Regions from separate parts of the Homo sapiens genome. Here regions 1, 2 and 3 are each linked to region 4. The links are contacts of gene promoters, found by promoter capture Hi-C in human tissues and cell types (Jung and others, 2019). All regions are on one chromosome and are shown on one strand. Each heading gives the region's core, a stretch centred on a gene start or on the middle of the fragment in contact. The rest is flanking DNA. Distances are from core to core; before and after follow the strand shown. Region 1 has its middle 6.5 kb from the start of OR6B1. Region 2 has its middle 15 kb from the start of OR6B1. Region 3 has its middle 13 kb from the start of TCAF1. Region 4 holds the start of OR2F1 (olfactory receptor family 2 subfamily F member 1).

Region 1 (4,085 bases), core at 1,116-3,615, 39 kb before region 4:
TTATATGTGGTAGAATTCATTAGTGGAGGCATCTGGACCTGGATTTTTCCACAAGGAAGATTTTTAACCATAAAATCAATTGCCGGCCGGGCGCGGTGGCTCACGCCTGTAATCCCAGCACTTTGGGAGGCCGAGGCGGGCGGATCACGAGGTCAGGAGATCGAGACCACGGTGAAACCCCGTCTCTACTAAAAATACAAAAAATTAGCCGGGCGCAGTGGCGGGCGCCTGTAGTCCCAGCTACTCGGGAGGCTGAGGCAGGAGAATGGCGTGAACCCGGAAGGCGGAGCTTGCAGTGAGCGGAGATCGCGCCACAGCACTCCCGCCTGGGCGACAGAACGAGACTCCGTCTCAAAAAAAAAAAAAAAAATCAATTGCCTTCATAGATAGGGAGTCAGGCTACCTATTTTCTCTTATGTGGGCTTTGGCAGCTTTTGATTTTTCAGGAATTTAACTATTTCACTCAAGTTCTTTGAATTTTTGGTATAAAGCTATTAAACTATTACCTTAGTGTTGTTTCTAATGTCTGCAGGATCTGTAGAGATGTGTTCTCTTTAATTGTATGTGTCTTTATTTGTGTTTTCTCTCTTTGTTTTGATCAGTCTGACTACGGATTTTTCAACGTTATTGATCTTTTCAAAGCTTGCTTTTGATTTCATTGAACTTCTCTACTATTTTTCTGTTTTTCTGCATCATTTTATATTTTATTTTGTTTCTTCTGCATCTTCTGTCTTTAGTTTTATCTTTTCAGTCTAGTTTCATAAGGTAAAACTCTGAGTCATTGATTTGAGACACTTCTAACAAAAGCGTTTAGTGCTTCACATTTTTCTCTAGGCTCTGTTTTTTGTTCAATTTGAAATATGTTTTCTAATTTTCTTTGTGATTTCCTTGACTTATTGATTAGTTAGAAGTATAGAGTTTAATTTTCATACATTTGGGGATTTTTCCAGAGGTTTTGGTTTATTCCTTATTTCTTATTTAATATCACTTCCTTATTTCTAATTTAATATCATTATGTTAAAAGAAAATATTTGTATAATTTCAATTTCAAATATGTTGACATTTGTAGTCTTCTATTGCTGAGTAGAATTTTATAAAAATGTCAATTAGGTTAATCTAGTTGATGGTGTTGTTCAGGTCGTCCATATTTGCTGACTTTCTTATCGTTTACTTGATCTATCAAATACTGAGAAAATTATGTTAACATCTTCACTAATAATGATGGGTTTGTCTATTCTTTCTGTATTTTTAGTGCTATTATTAAATTGTTAAAATTATTATATTGTCTTGAAAAATCAACTCCCTTATTATACAATATCCTATGTTAATTCTGGTAATATACCTTCTTATGGGAATTTATTAGAAATTATTATAGTCACTCCAGCTTTCTGACATAGTGTTGCATGGTAGATCTTCACTATCTTTTTACATTTAATCAATTTATTATTTTATATTAAAAATGAGTTCATTGATTGTAGAGAGCACACAGTTGGGTCTTTCTATTCAATTCTATATGTTGTTCTCTGCTTTTTAATCATTGTGTTTTAGATTATTTACCTTTACTGCTATTAGAGGATGAAGGTGTATTTAGGTGTACCATTTTGCTATTTGTTTTTTTTGTTGTTGTTGCTTTTGCTTTTGTTTTCTTTTTCTACACTTTTGCCTTTTTATTAATTAATTTTAATAATTTCATCTTATACCTAATATTGGCTTATTAGTTATACCTTTGTTTAAATGTGTTTACTAGTTGCTCTAAATTTTAAAACATAACTTATTTTTATTTTTATTTATTTTTTTTGAAACGCAGTTTTGGTCTTGTCACCCAAGCAGGAGTGCAATGGCGTGATCTCAGCTCACTGCAACCTCCGCCTCCCAAGTTCCAGCAGTTCTTCTGCCTCAGCCTCCTGATTAGCTGGGATTACAGGTGCCCACCACCATGCCAAGCTAATTTTTATATTTTTAGTAGAGACAGGGTTTCGCCATGTTGGCCAGGCTGGTCTCGAACTCCTGACTGCAGGTGATCCACCCACCTCGGACTCCCAAAGTTCTGGGATTACAGGCGCGGGCCACCGTGCCCAGCCTAAAACATAAATATTTAGTCTATCATAGTCCAATTTTAAATAATATTATAGTCCTTTACAAAACATGTAAAAATATTACAACGGTTCACTTCCATTTTTTTCCCTCTCATCTTTGTGCTATGGTTGTTGGCATTTATTTCTAAGTGTGTTATAAACTTCACAATACATTTACTTTTACTCCACAATACAGTTACTACTTTTACTTTATTCAGTCAGTTCTTATTTACAATTAATAAAAATAAATCTTTTTTGCCTTCATTATTTTTGCCATCTCTGGCACTCTTCATTTCTTTTGTAGGTTCAAATTTCCATTTGGTATCACATTTCTTCTTCCTGAAGAACTTTATTTAATATTTCTTGCAGTGTACTCACATGTGATAAAGTACGTCAGTTTTGTTTATCTGAAAAAGTATTCCATGCTTATATTTGAAAGAAATTCTCACTGTGTATAGATTTCTAGATGAGAGTTTTTTTCTTGTCAGCATTTTAAAGGTGCCCTCCTTTGTCTTATGCTGTGCCTCATTTCTGATGATAAATGGGTTGTAATTTTATCTTTGTATGTGTGTATAATATTTCTTTTTCTATACACATCTTCAAGATTTTATTTTGGTATCTGAGTTTTGGCAATTTGAATATGATTTTTTTCTCTATCCTGCTTAGGATTCTCTGAGCTTCTTGAATCTGGGATTTATTTCATTGATTTTGCAAAACTTTTAGCCATGATATCTGAAAATATTTCATTTGCCTTGTTACTCTGTCTTCTTCTTAGACTCAAATTAAACATCTGTTAGATTGTTTTATGTTGTTGTACAGCTTGTTCTATTTTTATCCACTCACTCTTCTCTTTTTATTCCAGTTGGGATAATTTCTGTTTCCATAACCTCATGTTCACTGACTCTTCCCTGTGTGATAGTCTTAACTCCATCAAAGAAATAATCTATTTTTATGTTGTTTTTTTTTGTTTCTAGCATTTCTATTTTACTTTAAGAAACAGTTTTATTGCTCTACTAAAATTTCTCATGTTCTCATGCACATTGCTTATGTTTTCTGCTATATCCTAATTATAGTTAGGGTAAAATTCCTGTTTGATAGATAGATCCAGTCTAGATCATTCCTGGTTCTGATTCTTTTGAATGCTTTCACTTAACAATGAGTAAGTATTTTCTTGCTGCTTTTGAAATATAATTTTTATTAAATGCTGGAAATTGTTGGTAAAAGAACAGTAGAGACTAGGCTATAGAGTATTTATACTTAAAAATGGGGTGCTGGTCCTTCTGTCAGACTATGTGTGTAAGTGGTTGAGGTGTTTTGGGTATTGTTACTATAATTACTTGCAGTGCTCCACAGATTTCAAATTCTTCTGACCATGAAGAATGATGCTTTGTTGAACCTAAATAGGAGATTTTAATCAGTGTTCCTGCTCTACCCAAATTTTACCAAGCGTAGCATTGCCTTTGTAATACAAGGTATCTCCATACTTTGGCTTCTTTCCCGGAAATAGGTGCTGTTGATTTTTTCTTGGTGCAAGGCTTGTGACAGGGGCAAAGATATCCTTGTTTTCCCTGATCCAGCCTCCATCCTAGTCAGCCCCTATAAACCTGAGACTTGGGAAGTGGTGTTCCTACCTCATCTCACCAGTCATGGCAGCCAGACTCTACTTTTTATTTGTGACTGGTCATGGGTGGGAGTTTCTGCCCTTATCCTAGTGGACTCCTAGTAGCAGGGCAGGATCCTAGCTTGAATGGATTTCTACCTCTTCCCTAAGAGCAAACTGCTTTTACTTCTACTTTTCCCTCAGTAGCAACTCACTTTTGTCTGGACAAGTGGCAAGAAGGCTTTCTGACCTTTCTCCAGAGGTAAACAAATGTTGATTTTGTTTGCAAGGCTTATGGTAGGAGCTGAGAGATTTCCCATCCTCCTTCAGGGAAGAAAACATTTTGCTTCTATCTTGGTTCTTTAAAGATAATTTTATTTCTTTCTCTGAATACTTTAAAAAGAAAAATT
Region 2 (3,808 bases), core at 507-3,006, 61 kb before region 4:
GTACAGGTGATTAGAGAGAATAAATAACAGCTCTCTTGGCTATGTTTTTGTTTGTTTGTTTGTTTGTTTGTTTGTTTTTTGAGACGGAGTATCGCTCTGTCACCCAGGCTGGAGTGCAATGGCGTGATCTCGGCTCACTGCAACCTCTGCCACCCGGATTCAAGTGATTCTCCTGCCTCAGCCTCCTGAGTAGCTGGGACCATAGGCACCCGCCACCACACCTGGCTAATTTTTTTGTGTTTTTAGTAGCGACGGGGTTTCACCACTTTGGTCAGGCTGGTCCCGAACTCCTGACCGCCCGCCTTGGCCTCCCAAAGTGCTGGGATTGCAGGCGTGAGCCACCGCACCCAGCCTCTTGGCTGTGTTTTAACCATTCTTGGCCCTGACTTTAGATGTCTATTCAAGTGTTGGAACTCAAAACATTATCTGGGCAAGCAGGATAGTTCTCACAGCTTCCCTTCCTGTGACCAGGGCTCAGCTTACTTATACCTATAATAACCCCACGTGCCATGCTGTCACTGTCACCAGAGGTAGGAAGTTACTTTTCATTGGCCCAACTGCTTCTGATTTTCTTAGAGTGTAAAACATTATTGGAAATGAACATATCTCTACATATTTGGGGCAGCAAGGACACATGGAAAGTTCTATGTCTTTTCTTAGAGCAGCATCACAGCCATTGACCGTGTTGCTCATCTTAAGTTTGTTGTACTGACTGTGCTGAGGATTCTCATCAGCTCTCTTTTCCCAGTTTGCGAGACAAGCACAAACTAAATGTTAAGAGCTCCTTTATATAGCTAATTATCAATATACCTGTAAATTTTTGTCTTTCTATGTGTGAGAGGCTTTTTCAGGAGTGTTAATTGGGTATTATTTGCAATCTAAATTTCCAGAGTTGTAATTTTAGATAGATTAGACTAGATATACTGTGTTTGAATATTCACAATCCTTGGATGTTACAACTTCTTCCAAGTGGTTTCCAAACTCAAGCATAAAGGTATTTATTTATATCCCCCAATTTTTCTTCCTAATGGGTACAGAGGTAACTATCCTGTAACTTCCTAAATAAACATAAAAATAAGATTATAATAATAACTCTTAGTCCCAGTTGTTTGTATTCATGTGTAAATATAAAGTATCTACATTATAATTACTTTTAAAATATTTTATTATATTATTATATTTTAATGTGATATGAATTTCTCATTATGAAAATAAACTTTTCTTTCTTTTTTTTAAATTATACTTTAAGTTCTGGGATACATGTGCAGAACATGCAGGTTTGTTACATAGGTATACATGTGCCATGGTGGTTTGCTGCACCCATCAACCCATCATCTAGGTTTTAGGCCCCGCATGCATTAGGTATTTGTCCTAATGCTCTCCCTCCCCTTGCACCCCCACCCCCTGGCAGGCACAGGTATGTGATGTTCCCCTCCCTGTGTCCATGTGTTCTCAATGTTCAACTTCCATTTATAAGTGAGAGCATGTGGTGTTTGGTTTTCTGTTCCTGTGTTAGTTTGCTGAGAATGATGGTTTCCAGCTTCATCCACATCCCTGCAAAGGACAAGAACTCATTCTTTTTTATGGCTGCATAGTATTCCATGGTATATATGTGCCACATTTTCTTTATCAAGCCTATCATTGATGGGCATTTGGGTTGGTTCCAAGGCTTTGCTATTGTAAATAGTGCTGTAATAAACATATGTTTGCATGTGTCTTTATAGTAGAATGATTTATAATCCTTTCGATATATACCCAGTAATGGGATTGCTGGGTCAATGGTATTTCTAGTTCTAGATCCTTGAGGAATCGCCACACTGTCTTTCACAAGGGTTGAACTAATTTACACTCCCACCAACAGTGTAAAAGTGTTCCTATGTCTCCACATCCTCGCCAGCATCTGTTGTTTCCTGACGTTTTAGTGATCACCATTCTAACTGGCGTGAGATGGTATCTCATTGTGGTTTTGATTTGCATTTCTCTAATGACCAGTGTTGATAAGCTTTTTTTCATATGTCTGTTGGCTCCATAAATGTCTTATTTTGAGAAGTGTCTGTTCATATCATTTGCCCACTTTTTGATGGGGTTTTTTTTTTCTTGTAAATTTGTTTATGTTCCTTGTAGATTCTGGATATTAGCCCTTTGTCAGATGGATAGATTGCAAAAGTTTTCTTCCATTCTGTAGGTTGCCTGTTCACTCTGCTGATAGTTTCTTTTGCTGTGCAGAAGCTCTTTAGTTTAATTGGATCCCATTTGTCTGCTTTGGCTTTTGTTGCAATTGCTTTCAGTGTTTTAGTCATGAAGTCTTTGCCCATGCCTATGTCCTGAATGGTATTGCCTAGGTTTTATGCTAGGGTTTTTATGGTTTTAGGTCTTACATGTAAGCCTTTAATCCATCTTGAGATAATTTTGGTATAAGGTGTAAGAAAGGCATCCAGTTTCACTTTTCTGCATATGGCTAGCCAGTTTTCCCAGCACCATTTATGAAATAGAGAGTCCTTTCCCCATTGCTTGCTTTTTTCAGGTTTGTTGAAGTTCAGATGGTTGTAGATGTGTAGGTGTTATTTATGAGGTCTCTGTTCTGTTCCATTTGTCTGTATATCTGTTTTGGTACCAGTACCATGCTGTTTTGGTTACTGTAGACTTGCAGTATAGTTTGAAGTCAGGTAGTGTGATGCCTCCAGCTTTGTTTTTTTGCTTAGGATTGTCTTGGCTATACAGGCTCTTTTTTGGTTCCATATGAAATTTAAAGCAGTTTTTTCTAATTCTGTGAAAAAAGTCAATGGTAGCTTGATGAGAATAGCTTTGAATCTATAAATTACTTTGGGCAGTATGGCCATTTTCACAATATTGATTCTTCCTATCCATGAGCATGGAATTTTTTTCCATTTGGAAAAAAACTTTTCATTTGATTTTTTTAACTTTTATTTTAAGTTCAGGAATACAAATTCAGGTTTGTTACATAGGTAAACTTGTGTTATGGAGGTTTGTTGTGGAGATTATTTCATCACCCACGTATTAAGCCTGGTACCCATTAGTTGTTTTTCCTGATCCTCTTCCTTCTCCCACCCTCCACCCTCTGATAGGCCCCAGTGTGTGTTATTCCCCTCTATGCATTCATGTGTTCTTATCATTTAACTCCCACTTATAAATGAGAACATGTGGTAGTTGGTTTTCTGTTCTTGTGTTACCTTGCTAAGGATAATGGCCTCCAGCTCCATCTATGTTCCCACAAAGGACATGATCTCATTCTTTCTATGGCTAAATAGTATTCCATGGTGTATATATACAACATTTTCTTTATCCAGCCTATCATTGATGGGCATTTAGATTGATTGCCTGTCTTTGCTATTGCGAATAGTGCTGCACTGAACATATGCATGCATGTCTCTTTATAATAGAATGTTTCCACTTAATTTAGAAGTTTTAATCATTTAAAACTACCTTCTCAACTGCTCATACAGTGCTGATGGGAGTGTAAATTGGTACAGCCCACTTTGAAAAACTATTTCACAATATGTTATCAGGCTGGGCATATTCATATCCTGTGATTTAGCATTCCAGTCTTAGTTATATGCCCAACAGAAATACATCTATAGGTTCAGCAAAGATATGTACTAGAATATCCATGCAATGCTATTCCTGATGGTCCCAAACTGGACACTATACAAAAAGAGTGAGAAGGATAAATAAATTATAGTATTTTCTCTTTTTTAAAATTTTATTTTAAGTTTTGGGATACATGTGCAGAGCATGCAGGTTTGTTACGTAGGTAGATGTGTTACATGGTGGTTTGCTGCACCTATCA
Region 3 (4,316 bases), core at 1,668-4,167, 40 kb after region 4:
CAACATTTTTAAAATCCAGTAATAAAATAATAATAAACAAATCTAAAAACCAATTTTCAAAATCTTGGCTCTATCCCCTACTAACAATTTCGCATTAAGGAAGTTTCTTAACCTATTTGTGCCTCAGGAATAAAAGTGCCTTCCCCAAAGGGCGGCACTCAGTGCTAAATGAGTTAACACGTCGGAAGTGCTTCCAAGCACTCCTAGTAAGAACTGAAAACTCAAAATTTTCCCTATATTGTTGAGAATTTTTTTAAAGTAATTAGTCTAATGCTTAAGGGTCCACAAATTTCATAAGGTAATCCATTATCCAAGTATAATAACTTATTGAAGAATGAATATGACTCCAACTACAAAACAATATTTTGTGAGGTTGCTTTGTTGTATATGCTCTCGCTGAGTGGTTCTCGATTGGGGCAAATGCCCAGCTGTGGACATTTGGCGGTGTCTGGAGAAATTTCCGGTTGTCTAATGAATAGAGGCCAGGGATGCTGCTAAACCCTCTACATTGCACAGGACAGTCCCCCACAACACAGTACTGTATGACTCAAAATGCCAATAGTGCCAGGGTTGAGAAACTGCTCTCATCTGTGACCAGCATATGGTTCTGTTGCCTCCAGAGCCAGAAGAGTAGTCAGATCCAGGTTCCAAAGGGTATATTTTTCACTGTTAACACCTGTTGTATCAAAAATTACTCAAATGCATCATTTTTAAAATTAGGAATATACTAAAATCCTTTGTTCGCCTTTATACAATGCAGAAAATAGAAAGACAAATCAAGATATTTTTGATTAACCAAAAAACGACTATTTATACATGTTCTAAAATTACACATATTAAGTAATGTTATCCATAGCGACCAATTATCATAAAGGCCTATGGAGATTTAAAGAGAAGTCAGTCTTTGAAAGCCAAATGTCCATTGCTTCTCAGCCTTTTGGCTAAGATCAAGTGAAAGAAAATGTCCCCAGAGGGCTTGTTTTACAGGTAACCTTCAAAGATGTCTTCATGCCTATTGGAAAATCCGATTTTTATTCTCAAATATTTTCTGGTGCTCGATTTTAAAAAACAAATTTCTTCTTAACGGCTTTCTTGGTTAGAATTTCATCTTATTTTGCCCTTGTATCAATAGCTCCTTCCTTCCTCCTATATGTCCAAATATCTTTCATAAGCAACTACTAAGTAGGAGTGCCTGTAGTCTCAAGCTGGCCCACAGGAATTTAATTTATTAGCACTGGCTGGTAAAATGCTATCCTAAAAACTTAAGGCTGGGCTGGGCGCCATGGCTCATGCCTGTAATCCCAGCACTTTGAAAGGCCGAGGCGAATGGATCACGAGGTCAAGAGTTGAAGACCAGCCTGGCCAAGATGGTGAAATCCCGTGTCTACTAAAAATACCAAAAAATCAGCCAGGTGTGGTGGTGGCTGCCTGTAATCCCAGCTACTCGGGAGGCTGAGGCAGGAGAATTGCTTGAACCTGGGAGGCAGAGGTTGCAGTGTGCCGAGATTGTGCCACTGCGCTCCAGCCTAGGTGACAGAGCAAGACTCCATCTCAAAAATTAAAAAGAATTAAAAAAAAAACAAGGCTATTAAATAAAAAAGAGAAAAATAGAAGTCTAATAGATTGACTGTGAGGTACATGATATTCAGTTTCCACATACTTAATGCCCACTCTAACATTCCTTCTTCAGAATGAAGATTCGGATAACCCCTTGGGTGAATAATCCAAACAAGCTAAGGAGCTGGGTGAGGGCAAAGGGATTATGGAATGGGTGGAGCAGAAAAGTCACAAACACTGTGACCACGTGGCCAGTCACAGAAATGAGGATATAGCGTCTTCACAAATTTTTCTCCTTGATGTGTCACATGTATATTGGTATGTTTTATTAATTCTTCATTCATCTCCTGTCCCTTACTATTTTATTTGGGTTTGTTCATAGCAGCACATTTTTCAGATTGGTCCACAGGTTATAGAATATCAAGGCAGGATTTTGACATTCCAGAGGAGGCCTGGTATTTGTTGAAAACATCCAGTCTCGGAGATGGGTGAAACTCTGACATCATCTGAGAAGACGGCTAGTGTGTTCCAACTGTGCACAGTGTCAGATGAGAACGTTTTAAGTGGGAGGCATTGTTAACATGAGAAGAAAGAAGTGTATGTATGTTGGAGGAGCCAAAGATGTGAAATGTAAACATCTGTCATGATGTTGTTTTTCTGTCCAGCGTCTTCTTCCTTTGATGCTTGGGGTATCCTCTCTTAGGAGAGGCTAAAATATTCTCAGCATCTTCTGCAGTAGGGGCACAGGTTTGTGACCCGGTCTCTATTACTCAGGTGTTTTTGTGCCAGTCAAGGACTAGTGATACAAAAAGGGAGGAACTGCCCAGAATTAAATGTGGTGAGACTGACACTAGAGGCAGTAGCAAGTCCAGTTTCCTGAATAACTAGTGTTAACAATTCTAGGATTATCCGGTGTACCATGGGTATCAGCAGCACACACTACCCTGTCTGTGCCTCCCCCCCAAAAAAACTGCATCAATGCCTTCATAGAATCACTTCTGTAGAATGATTTTTTAAATGTTTTTCTTGACGGTAGTCAACTCCAAGCATTATTCTCAGAGATTACGTGAGCTATTAATACTCCTTAATAAATGTGTTTTCTGCTAAAACTAGCCAAAGTTTTCATCTGTTGCTTGCAACTATAAATACTGGATGATGATGATAATGATGATGATGATATATGGAAACTCGGTAAAGGCCACCGCCACAACACTCGGCTAATTTTTGAATTTCTGGTGGAGACGGGGTTTCATCATGATCTTTTAAAAACACCACACTTTCTTAATTACTGTAGCCTTATAGTAAGGCTTAGATGCAAATAGTGCAAATCCTCTGAATTTGTAATTCTTTTTCAAGAGAGTTTTGGCTGTTATACACCATTATAAAATACTTGAGACCAGAAAATAACTACCTTCAAGGGTTAAAAGGAACAAAACCCAGCGCTACAATGGGCCAGTACCAATGCTTATTCCCATCAATCAGACCAGAAAAAAAAAAAAAACCCTGATAATTTATAACCCTTTGCATAGAGTACTTAGAGCTTCTTCCCTCAGCAGTGGTGAATAATTAACCCTAGGGTAAATGCTGCTCTGGTCCTACCTAACAAATTCGAAAAGCAAGACCCAAAAGGATCAAACTAATTCCAGGTAATTTAACTGAATGCCAGAACAAAGTTCATGAATATTTAGAGGAATACAAAAATATCCAGCACGCAAAATGACAAAAACTCACAATGACTATCAACCATGTATACAAAGGAGCAGGAAAATATGACCAATTTTAAGAAGGAAACTATCAGTCAAGAAAGACCCACTTGGTAGGCTGAAGTGAGAGGGTTGTTTGAGCCCAGGAGTTTGAGGATGTAGTGTGGTATGATCTCACCTGTGAAGTAGCCACAGCACTCCAGCCTGAGCAACATAGTGAGATTCCACCTCTAAAAAAAAATTAAGATTAAAAGAAGACCCAAATCTAGCACAGGCATTTGAACTAGCACTCAAAAACATCAAAGCAATTATTATAACTGCAATCATATGTTTAAAAGATTAAAGTCATGGAAAATATTTTTAAAGAACCAAAACTAACTTCTAGACATGAAAAATACGGTTCCTAAGAGAAAAACACAACTGGATGGAATTAACAGCAGGATTATGCACTGTAAAAAAAAAATTAGTTAAGTTGGTGACACAGCAATAGGAACTATTCAAAATGAAATACAAAGAGAAAAAAGAGCAAAAATCTAACTGAGCATATATAAAATATGAGAAACTTAATCTACCTAGTTTACATGTAATTGGAAAAATATTTGGAGAAAGAATTCCCCCTCAATTACCAAATTGGACGAAAACTATAAATCCAAAGTTCAAAGAACCTTGGTGATCCCCAAACACACACACACACACACACACATAAAACTATACTAAGACATATAATAAATTGCTTAAAATGAGTAATAAAGAGAAAACCTTAAAAATCGTCAGAGGGAAAAAATATACATACAAAACTACAAAAATAATGATGAAAGCTGACTTATCATAAACAACGCAAGCCAAAGATAGAGGAGCCACATCTTTTAAGTCAGAGATGAGTAGAAGAGAGGGATTGTAAATGAGCATAGGGAAAGTCTTGGAGATCATCTCCAAATGTTCATTTTCTTGATTGTAGTAATGTTTCCACTGGCATATACAGATATCAAAACTTATCAAGTTTTACACTGTTAATATGTGCTGTTTATTGTAGGTCAGTTACACCTAAATAAAGCT
Region 4 (3,866 bases), core at 1,050-3,549:
AATAATTACTATCAACTCTATATGGCTCACTCTCAATTTTACATTTACCTTCTAGATTTCTCTTCAAAGCTCCAAGTGTATTCCAGAAAAGCTGAATGAATGTTTCCTAAATATCTCACCAATGCCTGTACTCCTCTATCCACGAATGAAATTCCCTCCTGAGTTCTTTTTTACTATCGGCAGAATTAGATTTCTCCTACTCTCTCAATGAATCATCTTTTATTTTTCCCTCTTCTTCTGTATGCCACAGAATACATTCTCTTCCTTTATTATATATCTCCCCCATCTCCTCCTTACTCTCAGCCACACTTACCTTTTCCCTCTTTATTCCCATCTGCTAGAGTTGCCAGACCTTACTTGTAAATTTCCCTAATGTAACTTCCATTCACTCCCAAAATCCTACACTCTAACCTCCAAGTTAATTATATAAAATACAAATTTTTATGTCCTTTTTAAGCACAAAAAGATCTATAATGTCTAAGTGTGTAAAGATTTAAGTTTATCCTGGGCAGAATACTTTTCATCCAATCCATAATCTGCTCTTCTTCTATGACTAACTTTATTTTATTAACTATAGCATTTATTATCATGCCTTGTGTTTTCCAGCAGTCTTTTATTAAAATAGGCTGCTAATACTTAAATATCTTTCACTGATATGTTAACCCATCAAGTATGCTGTGTTTTTCCATGGCTATTGTGGGTTTCAAAATAATTAATATTCAAAAAATATATCTTGTTTCGAATGTTTATGGACTGATGTTAGACAAAGAAAATGTAAATATCATCTGCATTTGGAAAGCCAGTTGAAGGAGGAAATATGTATGAGCCAGATGATTTTAATGCACCTTCAGTTAAAACCATCTCCATATTATTCTGGGCTCACCTTCCAGCTAAATATAACTGGCTTTCTATTCTTATATCAAGGTGAATGGACTAGGTGTCAGGTAACATGCTTCATATCCAACCACTTCTATAGGAAGCCAGAGCTTGATCTTTACTGCTCTAATCTGTGGAATCTATACTTTCCCTACACCGGTGACATTCATTGAGGTCAACTAACTAAGGAAAAAATGTGAGAATATTTCTTCAATTTGTCTGTACAAACACAACTACCAAAACCTCTTAATACAAGCATGCAGCCAAGTTACAAAACCAGTATTGGACAATGAACACAGCTAATAGTCCTATTTAGCTCTTTGTGGTGTACAAGTGTGACTTTTGTGCTCTTCACAGTACTTGTCCAACACCAACAACATTACCTTTTTGCCAGGCATCTAATGTTGCTTTAGTAAGCAATAAAATTCTATTTTACATTCTTAGAGTTATATCATCTTCATACTCAACAAACATCAAATCAATTTTTTCTATATGTGTTCTGAGCTTTCTTTTGACCATTGAAAATAACCAATTCACGCTGCCTGCTCAGAACACAGTACTGAAAAATGGCATACCCTGTGGTTCACCTCCATAAACAGGATCACAATGAAAAAAGGAATTACTGCTTCCTGTGTTTTATGAATTGGGGTGAATGTAGGATAATCACTGTGACCATAAGAAATAGAAAACAATGTGTGATATAGTAAGACAGGTGCTATTGAAATATTCTGTGAATGATTATCTTTTTTAAAGCCCTGTCTCTAATTCCTGAAATGTATTACATTTATGTTGCACATTGTCCTTTTTTGTGAAATGTTTAAAAATGCAATAATGCTAAATGAAACTTTTATAATATAAAGTACCTAAACATTATCAACTGGTATAACAGCTTACACTGATCCTTTACATCACATAATAGTAAAAGCTGGAGTTTTAGATGTAAATAACCTGAAAATTACAGGAAAAAAATCAGAGAAGAGGTATGAATAGCAAAGCTCAAAATTTTCTAGATAAATATTACCTTTATTGGAATGGCTAAGTTAAGCTAATTAATATATGCATCACATCACATACATATTATTTTTGTAACAAGATTTCTTAAAATCTATGCCATAAATATATACAATTTTTATTTGTCAAACAAATAAATAAAACAAAATTACTTTTGTTGGACCCAGGTAAAATATCCTCCATGTGTCTTCTCTGTTTATCCAGTAATTATTAGTTACAGCAAATATCAGGACTGAAATATTCTTCTATCAACGACAAAGAAAGAACAAAAAAATAAGTGTTTAGATTCCTCACACAGTTCATTTTACATAACAAAAAAACTCTAATTTAACAGTTAAATTTCAATCAGTCAAGATCTCTCTTTAGTAAAGCAAATCAATTCATTGATTCCATGGAATCTATTTTCTTTATTATAAAAATTAAATCTAAATTGCAACAAATTAAATGTTCTTTTTCAACCTATCCTATCTCGGTAAATTCACCCATTACTCTTTTTCTTATTGTTTCAATCGACTACCATCTTATAATATCTTTGACTGAAAATATATGTCACCTGAAGAAGATGAAGAGTGAAAAATTCACAGAACCATGTTAGCAGATGTTCAAACCTGGACTAGCCTTTATCTGGATGGGGTAGATAAAATTGGGCTATATAGACGTTCCTGCCTTCCTTTCTCTGAATTTATATTCTAACCCCTTATCTATGAGCCAAAAAGCTCCATGCAAGTCTCTGTAGCTCTCTATATTCAGGCCTGCCTTCCAGCAGATGTGGCCCCTGTTCTAAAATTGCCTTTTCCTCTCCCCTTCTTAAAAAGAACACAGGGAAAGGCAAGATCTTAAGTGAAGTTAAATATCTTACTCATAGTAAATTCTTAGGCAGTGATATATGTTAATATTTGTTGTAAACATCTGGTATTTTGAAATTATGCAATCATTCCGCCAACTAGTCTGTTAGAATTTTATTTAACCCTGAAGAGTTGATCTCCGAGATGGGGGTGCCATCCATGCTCAGCTCCCTACAGCTCTGCAGAATGCTGAGAAGAAAGGGTACAGCCCCAAGCAACAATGACTTCTCCCCTAAAGTTCCTTTTCAGCCTTTTGCCACATCCTCCCCCTATTGCTGCTTTAATGAAATGAGAAGACGTTGGAGGAACCATGAGCCACTGTTCATCAAGTAAAAGATGAGAAGCCAGACCCATAGTTAAAGATCAATCAGGCATTGACAGAACTTATCACTGTGTTGGTGCCACGCAGACAGGATCATAATTTGTGGGGCTCTGGAAATGTCTTCACGTGCTGCTGTTCACATTTTTGTTTTATTATTTTTAATTGCATTTAAATTCCATTGCTACTCTGTGGACCAAGACTGAAATATATTCAATTTATTCTTGCAAGGAATCAAATGTCCAGGGCTTGACACCTAGGTATATTTTCCATTCGCAACATTGAGTTCCATGATTTGCTATCCTACCCCAGTCAGTGTATTATACATTTTAAAGTATCTAACATAATTTTCTACCTCTATTGACTGGCTGGCTTAAGACATTAACTTCTCCCTTTTCCTCCATATTAGGAAGAGGGAAGTGTTGACTTGGAAAGACTCAGGAGGTATGCACGCCAGAAAAGCATTCCTCAATGTCTCACATTCCAAAAATATATTTCTGAATATAATCCTTTCCAATATTTACATCAATTCAAAGAGTGCATGGTTAAATAAAACCTTGTAAGAGCCTTGTAAATTTATTCTGAGACATACTGAGGCTTCGGGGCATATTACCAATATTCTCTTATTCATTATAGTGATAATTCCCTAAAGCTAAGGACTAAAAAGCCAAAAACTTTCTCTCCAGAAAATGAGTACACCATGATTCTAATACTCCACTGAGTTTTAATCCTATTTGCCCTTCTTATTGGAGTCCTCTACAATCTTAGCTGAGGCAAATAGAGCTCTGAATACTCTGTATTCAACAGAGCACATG

Evidence for each region. The method cuts DNA at HindIII sites, captures the fragments that hold promoters and counts their contacts. A contact is called where the count stands out against the background at its distance.
Region 1: a contact is called between a fragment that was not itself captured here and the fragment with the promoter of OR2F1 in region 4, in 1 of the 25 tissues and cell types used here (hippocampus).
Region 2: a contact is called between a fragment that was not itself captured here and the fragment with the promoter of OR2F1 in region 4, in 1 of the 25 tissues and cell types used here (liver).
Region 3: a contact is called between a fragment that was not itself captured here and the fragment with the promoter of OR2F1 in region 4, in 5 of the 25 tissues and cell types used here (adrenal gland, aorta, hippocampus and 2 more).

Annotation. Positions count from the first base shown.
Region 1 is chr7:143,991,733-143,995,817 of GRCh38, reverse strand. No RefSeq gene overlaps it. Among named protein-coding and RNA genes, the nearest start is that of OR6B1, 6.5 kb to the left of the region's middle. The HindIII fragment of the contact is 6,072 bases long and covers 1-4,085 here.
Region 2 is chr7:144,013,802-144,017,609 of GRCh38, reverse strand. No RefSeq gene overlaps it. Among named protein-coding and RNA genes, the nearest start is that of OR6B1, 15 kb to the right of the region's middle. The HindIII fragment of the contact is 3,640 bases long and covers 1-3,576 here.
Region 3 is chr7:143,913,238-143,917,553 of GRCh38, reverse strand. No RefSeq gene overlaps it. Among named protein-coding and RNA genes, the nearest start is that of TCAF1, 13 kb to the right of the region's middle. The HindIII fragment of the contact is 8,681 bases long and covers 1-4,316 here.
Region 4 is chr7:143,953,277-143,957,142 of GRCh38, reverse strand. It overlaps OR2F1 (olfactory receptor family 2 subfamily F member 1), which reads right to left and starts at 2,299. Exons shown (of 3, transcript NM_012369.3): 1 at 2,040-2,299. The HindIII fragment of the contact is 7,987 bases long and covers 1-3,866 here.